Linked DNA regions of Homo sapiens: region 1 is linked to region 2. The links are contacts of gene promoters, found by promoter capture Hi-C in blood cells and fetal thymus (Javierre and others, 2016). All regions are on one chromosome and are shown on one strand. Each heading gives the region's core, a stretch centred on a gene start or on the middle of the fragment in contact. The rest is flanking DNA. Distances are from core to core; before and after follow the strand shown.

The links. The method cuts DNA at HindIII sites, captures the fragments that hold promoters and counts their contacts. A CHiCAGO score of 5 or more calls a contact.
Region 1: a fragment that was not itself captured here is called in contact with the fragment with the promoter of NRIP3 in region 2 in 4 of 17 cell types (M1 macrophages, M0 macrophages, M2 macrophages and 1 more); the score reaches 6.8 in M1 macrophages.

What each region holds. Positions count from the first base shown.
Region 1 is chr11:9,137,464-9,141,349 of GRCh38, reverse strand. DENND5A (DENN domain containing 5A) reads left to right here. Exons shown (of 23, transcript NM_015213.4): 23 at 1,496-2,525. The coding sequence ends at 1,679. Among named protein-coding and RNA genes, the nearest start is that of SCUBE2, 48 kb to the right of the region's middle. RefSeq lists enhancers at 2,034-2,328, 3,142-3,331. The HindIII fragment of the contact is 1,904 bases long and covers 520-2,423 here.
Region 2 is chr11:9,001,797-9,005,851 of GRCh38, reverse strand. It overlaps NRIP3 (nuclear receptor interacting protein 3), which reads left to right and starts at 1,851. Exons shown (of 7, transcript NM_020645.3): 1 at 1,851-2,090. The coding sequence starts at 1,917. NRIP3-DT (NRIP3 divergent transcript) reads right to left here and starts at 1,764. Exons shown (of 3, transcript NR_183663.1): 1 at 1,309-1,764. RefSeq lists an enhancer at 1,755-2,674. The HindIII fragment of the contact is 8,665 bases long and covers 1-3,138 here.

The DNA.
Region 1 (3,886 bases), core at 222-2,721, 140 kb before region 2:
GGTGATCTGTCGGGGTAGGGATGACAACGTGTATGTAACTCGGGGCAGAGGGGCCCCATTTTGAAAGGAAAGATCAAAATCACACCACTGGGGAAGTTTGAAGCAGAGTATATCTAGTTATTCCTTCATTAGACATTTAAATGGCCTTATGGAAGTTGGTAGGAAGACAGCTGAATAAAACGTGGCCCCTTACCATTTATTTATTTATTTATTTATTTATTTTGAGATGGAGTTTCGCTCTTGTTGCCCAGGCTGGAGTGCAATGGTGTGATCTCGGCTCACCACAACCTCCGCCTCCTGGGTTCAAGTGAGTCTCCTGCCTCAGCCTCCCGAGTAGCTGGGATTACAGGCATGCGCCATCACGCCTGGCTAGTTTTGTATTGTTAGTAGAGACGGGGTTTCTCCATGTTGGTCAGGCTGGTCTTGAACTCCTGACCTCAGGTGATCTGCCTTCCTTGGCCTCCCAAAGTGCTGAAATTACAGGCGTGAGCCACCATGCCTGGCCAACATTTAGAAGCTTACTTGTCCTAATTAAATACAGAGCATGGAAGAAGGTTTTGAGGGTCCAAAAATGAAGTGTACATTCATACAATATGCTGAAAAGGTAGAGGAGAAAGATCAGAGAAGACTTCAGGGAGGAGTTGGTATTTAAGTGAGCCTTTAATGGAAGGAAATAACAGAACGTGGCAAGGGCAGTAATAGGAAACACAGTTGAAAGGAGGGTAGGGCCCCTGAGCTGGGACAGAGAAAGATTCTTTTCATATTAGTACAAAGTTGTTTCATCAGGGGACTGAAGTAATATTAATCTGATATTATGGGTGGTATGCATTAGAGTGGACATGATTATTAGGGGCTATTCCTGTAGGTCAGGTGAGAGAGCATGAAGCTCAAATAAACTTAAGGCAGTTTATTCAGGCTGCATAAAGGGAGAGAATTGGCATAGTGGTTAAAAACAGACTCCAGAACCGCATTCACTAGGTTCAGATCTCAAGTTATCCATTTACTAGCCATGTGATCTTGGACAAGCTACTTAACTTCCATCTACCCTACTTTCTTCATCTATAAAGTGGGGATAATAATAGTACCTACCTCATATCACAGGGTTATCATGAAGATTAAATCTCTTATGTCAGTGCCAGCACATGCTGAGTGTTATGTGAGGTTAGTGCTTATTATTATTCCTGGTGGTGGTAGCTGTGGGAGGAGAGAAGCTCTGGGAGACACCAGTGGTGGGGCTGACTAGGCAGGGCGAGGGAGGCAGGGGAGGAGGAGGCTTGGAGGCTCATGACAGGGCTGATTTGGGTCAGGTTTGTTTGGTGTCCTGGAGCTGAAAGACCTCTTTGCCAGTCCCTGTTTGGGAAAGGGGGGTGTGGGGGGCTGTCAGCTTCTCCAGCTTCAGACTTAGTTCATGGTTTCCCCCTTGGCCTTGCACTAACGCTCTCTCTTCCTTTTCCTTTGCCCCTCTGACCTGCCTGGACTGCTCCCGCTCTGCCAGAGATCACCTCCTACACCACTGGATTGCCCTGCTGGCTGACTGCCCCATCACTGCACACATGTATGAGGATGTGGCACTGATCAAAGACCATACACTTGTCAATTCCTTGATTCGTGTGCTGCAGACATTGCAGGAGTTCAACATCACGCTGGAGACGTCCCTTGTCAAGGGCATCGACATCTGACCTCCCAGCACCAGCCAGCAGCAGGACTGAGAAAGACTCACCCTGCAGCTCTGACCTTTTTTCCCAAAGGGACTTAAGCGATTGTGCAGGAGTAGGAGACAAAATGTACACTCACTGTAAAAAGAAAACTAGAGGATTTTTGGAATAAATAATCTATTTTAGAGTTTATTTGCTGATTTGCTTTTTACACACTTTCATGTGAAAGAGTGATAGGGAGAGGGAGCGAGGCTGGTGCCGCTTATTTTGAAGCTGGTGCCCTCCCTCGCCGTGGCCACATGCTGGAAGCCTGAGGCCTCCCTGGACTGAGCCTGTGGCACTGCGTGCGGGACAGTTATGTTTCCTTGCCCCGTCGCATTAATGAGGCCCTTCCACATCATTTTTAAACTAATGTTTTTCTATATTAACATTATTATGGATATTTGGCTTTCATAGGCCACACACAGGTGTGCTGCGCGGGAAGCCCCATGCTCCAATCAAAGGGATTTTTAGTAGTGCCTCTAAGCAAGCACCGATGAGTCAGTCCCACGTATTTTCTTTTTTGTCAGTATTGTTTGGGAAGGAGACATGCCGGGATGTGTCATCGTGCCAAATACCACATTTCCTGTTGGCACAGTTTCACAGAAGTAAACATAAGCATGTTTTAACAGGTTTTTCTTTTCTTTTTTCTTTTTTAAAATGTTTTATTTATTTAACCCGCCATTGTGTGTTTTTAAGTATTTTCTTTTTTTAAGGAAAGGAAAAGCTTGTCACAATCTAACTGGCTATGTTATTATTATTAAATTTATGTTTTGCAACTTAGAAACCAGCTACAGTATGGCCCACTTAATAAAACACCTGAAACAAAAACTGCATGGATCACTGATTTTTATGGAGGTTTATGAGCAGTGGGTGGCTGCGGGTGCAGTTGGGTCCATCTGTGAGGATGGTCTTGTGGCATCACCTCTCTTTACCAGCAGGCTCGGGGTTGTGGCCTGCCCAGGATGCCCCTGAGGGCCTGGGGTCTCCTGGGTCCTTCTGCCCGCAGTGCTAGGAGCCTTCCTAGCTGTTATGTGGCTGATTCACATGGATGCAGACAGGGTTCTTTCCCCACTCCACAGAGGAGGAGACTGAGACACAGGAGGGAAAAGACCCGGCCAGGGGTGCAGAGGTTGTCACTTGACTGAGACAGGATGGGCCCTTTCTTGAGAGGGTAAGGGAGACCAGGTGTGGGAAGCTGGGGGTCGGGGGAAGCTCTTGAAAGAAAGGTTTGCTTTCCTGGGGATGGCAGGTGGGAGACCTTTATGAGAGGTCCAGCTTCGTTCATTTTTATTCTTCAGGCTGCTTTGGCAGGAAGCTCCAGAAGAAGTGTAACGTGATCAAGTCAGGCACCTCAGACCAATCAGTGCCCTCTTTTATGCTTTCCTGGTTTGCATGCATTTTCCCTTTGCCTGGAATGCCTCCCCTTCACCCACTTTGTGTTTGTTGTACAGGGTTTACTTTAGCAGTCACCTGCTGTGAAGTGTCCCCAATCTCCCTAGGCAGTTAATCATTCCATCCTTGTGCTCCTTCATTTTCTTAGATGCTGGCATCTCCTCTCTGGATTGTCATTGCCTGCTTTCGTGTCAGGCTCAGCCCTTGCACCGTGAGCTCCCAGAGGGAAAAGGGGGATCTCTTGCCTGTCTCCATCCCCTGGGCCTGGCAGGTGGTAAATGCTTCTGAAGAGATGAGGAGAGGGCCCAGAGAGCTGCAGCGCAGCGTCCTGCCTGCAGAGGGGGTGAGAGGCCACACTGCAGCCGTCTGCCTGGAGCCCACGGACAGAGCTTTAGTTCTCTCGGAGAAGGCCGAGGAAAGGGGAAGGAAGGTAGGCAGTACCTCTGGAGCAGGAAGTGGGATTCTTGGCTGGGCAAGAAGGGCAGCATGGAACTCAGCTGTATGTGTTTATATTGTGGGCCTAGGCCTGAGCTTACCTTAAGGCAGGTGCTGGGACCAACTATTTCCTTGCTCTTTGTAACAGCTGATCCTACTCACTTTCTACTGTGTTTTGTTTTGTAATCTTCTGCAAATCTGTTTTGGAATGATGTGTGATATAAGAGAACAGACCTGTTTAGTAGCTCAAGATTTCAAGGACATTTGAGTCAACTGCGTTCTTCCGTGTAGGGCCCAGCCAGGCCTCTCCAGTGGTCCTGGGTAAATCAGGTGTGTTTGGTTCACTCAGCAAGCAGCCCTGC
Region 2 (4,055 bases), core at 602-3,101:
CCACTTGATTTCTTTGGTACGACCTTAACTTTTTGCCATCCTTTCACTAGTATTTGAGAACCCTCTGCATATTAGGGCATCAATGCTAAGCAAAAAATGGGTTCAGTCACCTTCCTGGAGGTTCCAATCAGTGGAGGAGACAAATATTAATCCAACAACCAGTACCCCCCTACCCCTACCCCCACAGAAAGTGTCAAATGCCCAAGAGATAGATAGTATATAATTAGAGAGACTTCACTCTCTCTGGAAGGTCAGAGAAGGCTTTCCTAAAGAAATGATAATGGAGCTGAGGTCTGGAAGAAGCATAGGAGTTTCCTGAAGAGGGTAGGAGGGGGCACTGCACACAGAGGGAACAGGACAGTCAAAGGCAGGCCATTTGGCAACAGGTGACTGGAAGGAACTGGAAGAAGGCCCATGAGGCTGAAGTACAGAGTGAATATGCAGGGTCTAGGCAGACCATGCAAGAATGTGGGTTTCTCCTAAGAGCAATAGGAAGCCTTTTGAGGTGCTCTTAGCAGGGAAGTGAGATGATCACACTTATCGTTTGAGAAGATTACTCTGGCAGCACAGTGAACAACGTATTGGAATGGAACCAAGGAGCATTCAGGAGGCCAGACAGAAGGTATCAGGTATTTGCCTGTAAAATGGGGGTGATGAGAATACTATCTTACAAGCTGTTGCCAGGATCCAATGAGATACTGCATTTTAAGTGTCTAGTCTAGTACCTGGCACATAGTAAAGGCTCAGTAAGCGTCGATATTGTTACTTTTATCATTGGTTCTTTGCAGAGTGCACATATTTCTTATCCAGGTCTGCTCCTGCGTGATGGGGTGGAGGGAGTAGTTGTGGTTTCCAGAGTGAAAACGTGATTTGTGTCAAATCACAATGTCGAGACCAGAATCCAGGATGCCTGAAGGCCCGATTAGAATGGCTTAAAAGTATGGATTATTCAGGAAGAAAAACGGGTTCCAATCGCTCCTACTAAGGACGCTGGAGGGATGGTGAACGATCCTTTAGATGGTAAGCCCTAGCACTTATTGAGAAAAACAGGTGCTTCTTTGGTCGGAGAGCAGGTGTAGGGCTCGCAGCCGCGTGCGCTCCCGCGGAGGCGGGGGACCCTCGCCACTCCCCCGCCCCACGCCCACCCGCGGGCTTCCGACTGCACCTGCTCCCCCGGCTCGGAAACGCGGGCCGGGTGCCGGGCTGCAGGCAGAGGGTGCCCGGGGGAGGAGGTCCCGAAAGCCTCCTCCACACGCCTGCACCGGCTGCCCCCTCCCCAGTCACGTGGCCCGGTGGGTGGGGACCGACCTGAAGTTGGAGAAATCCGGAGCGCTCCCAACCTCGGAGGGAGTCGCCAGTCCTCCGGGCCCGGGCGGTGGACCCTGGAGCCCCGGCTGGCGGCGTGGAGGTGCGTTTCTGAGAAGCCGAGCAGCGGCGCGGGCGGCGGGACTCGAGGCATGGCCCGGCTGTCGGTGATCCCCGGGTCGGCCACGGCGTGGACAGGTGAGCAGGTACCCGCGGCCAGCGGCAGAGATGGCCGGGGCTGCCAGGGCATCGGGCCCCAGAGCCCACGCCAGTCCAGGGGATGCGGGGCCCCCACGCAGGAGGGGGCGGTTGGGTGAAAAGGCCGCGGTGGATTCTCGGACTGCCGGGTCAGTCCCCACCAGCGCCGCCGCCTCCTCGCCGGCTTTGCCACCGGGTGAGCAGGGGACGCGGGACGCGGGACGCGGGACGCGAGGGAGCCGCGCGGGGCGTGGACTCTGTGCCGGCCCCGCCCCCCGCGCGCGCACTGGCTGCTCCCCGCGACGTCACGCTCGGCTATAAAAGGCGCGGCTCGGGGCCCTTGCGGCGCTGGAGGAGCTCGAGGCTGAGGCTGCCGGGGGGCTGTGGGCTACCGGGCCGCCGGCGCCTCAGCGATGTTTTACTCAGGGCTCCTCACTGAGGGCGGCCGCAAGGAGACCGACATGCGGGAGGCGGCGTCACTGCGACAGCAGCGCCGGATGAAGCAGGCGGTGCAGTTCATCCACAAGGACTCCGCCGACCTGCTGCCCCTGGACGGCCTCAAGAAGCTGGGCTCGTCCAAGGACATGGTGAGCCCCCGCCGCCGTTCTCGCCCCGGCCCCGGCGGCTTCGCGCCCGCCGTTTTCCGAGGCCCGGCCGTTGCGGCTTTCACTGAGTCACGGCCCGGCCCGCCGCTGCCCTTGGCTCGCGGTCGCTGCGTCGCGGATTCCTCCCCTTCCAGTACCCCTGCTGCGGTTTCGGTGGGGATTCCGTCGTAGCTTTTCTAGCTTGCGCTCCCCTCGGCTGTGCCTCCTCCCTGGATGTCTCTTCTCCAGTAGAAAGAAGAGGTCCTGCCCTGCCCTCTTGCCCTCGGGTCTTCTTTCTTTTTCCTTATTCTTAATACCGAATTTTGTTCACGGGGCTTGTGCCTCCTATGCTGTGTGGCTGTTCCTATGACCCAGACAGAGGTGATTCCTAATGGCTTTCCGTGAGGGGGAAAGAAGTGGAAAGAGGGTTTTTTGACAGTTGCCAGATCCAGAGGACTTCTGTTGAATCCATTGTCCCCCTATGCAAAACCCACTTCTCTAGTTTTGGTCCTAACTTTGACCTTCCATCCTGAGTGGGGAGAGAGAAAAGGGGCCAAATGTGAAGGTTTCCTGAACCCCCAACATCTCTTCATCATTCTCCTCTTCCAGCCCCGCCCCCAAGGAGTGGGTAGAGGGAGGAAGCCAGGCTGCTGCATCTCACCGACCAGCTAATGTGTGCATCTGGAGCTGGGGTGGGTGCAGTCTTTTTTTCTAGCACAGTTGTTCCTGGCATTAAGTAGAAGCACCTCAGGACAGGGGGCCTGGGGTCAAAGATGGTACTGTCCTCTTTCTATAGAATGGGATGGATGGCTAAGGGTTACCAATATAAAGAACTGTATTTGTCATCCCTCAGCCACTGTAGTGGTCCTGGGCCAAGTTTATGTTTAACTTTGTAGTTTTATCTGGAGTTTTCTTGTAGTTTGATTGTTTTCTTGAATTTCACAATCGCTTTATTCATTTGGGTGGTAATATGTGAAACACTAATTAAATGTCTTTTAACAAATGAAATAGGTGCTCTGCATAATTTTTCTAGTATTTTTTATTTTAAGCTTTTGAAATATTTAATTTTGGATGTGGTTGTCGGCCCTAGTTCACTGAAATTGCCATTTCTGGCCCCAGGAGGGCAGAGCTTCTGCATCCATTTCCTTTTTTTTTTTTTTTTTTTTTTAATTTAACAGCTCTAATGATACACAGGTACATTATATTATACACAGTATAATATAATATACAAAAATTTTTCTCCTCCCTGCCATTAGTTACTTCTGTGCAGAGTTTGTCTACTTCAGTTATCTTGCTCTGTTTTTTTTACAAGTTGTGTTTTTTTGTTTTGTTTTGCTTTTTGCACAACCCACAGGATAGTTTATCTGATTTATGCTAACCCAGAGTGATAAGTGATTGAAATGTGCTCCTGCAAAAGAGATAACTCTCTTTTCCCTTCTTTCACTTTAAAGCAATCTCGATTCATTTAACAAATCAGGTTCGAGAAGTATTCTTTCCTTCAGGCCAAATAATCCTATCCTAGTTCCTAGAATGCTCAGCAATCAATAAAGAAGGAAGTATTATATTAAGAGAAGAATTAAAATACAGAGTTTTTAAATGCTGGATTTGGTTGTCCCTCGTTGTCGAGGAGTTTCCTAGCCCTGAGAGCTACCTGAACTTCCTTCTGCCTAGGATTTCTTATACTACTTCATGCTGTGTAAGAATTCCATCCGCTTTTCTGACTCTAGTCTGTCTCAGTTGAGTCACAAAGGGCTGATAGCATACAGCACAGGCAGCAGGCTGCAAAGAGGAAGGAGCCTCAAGAAGCAGGATATTGCCTTGAGTATGACACATACACATGACAGTTGACTGTAAGGCTCTGAATCATGGTTCACGCTTTCTGTGCCCCACCGTCATGGAGTTGATTTCCCTCTCTCACTGTTTTCACACCTATAATGTACAAGTGATTGCACAGAACAGCCAGGTTAC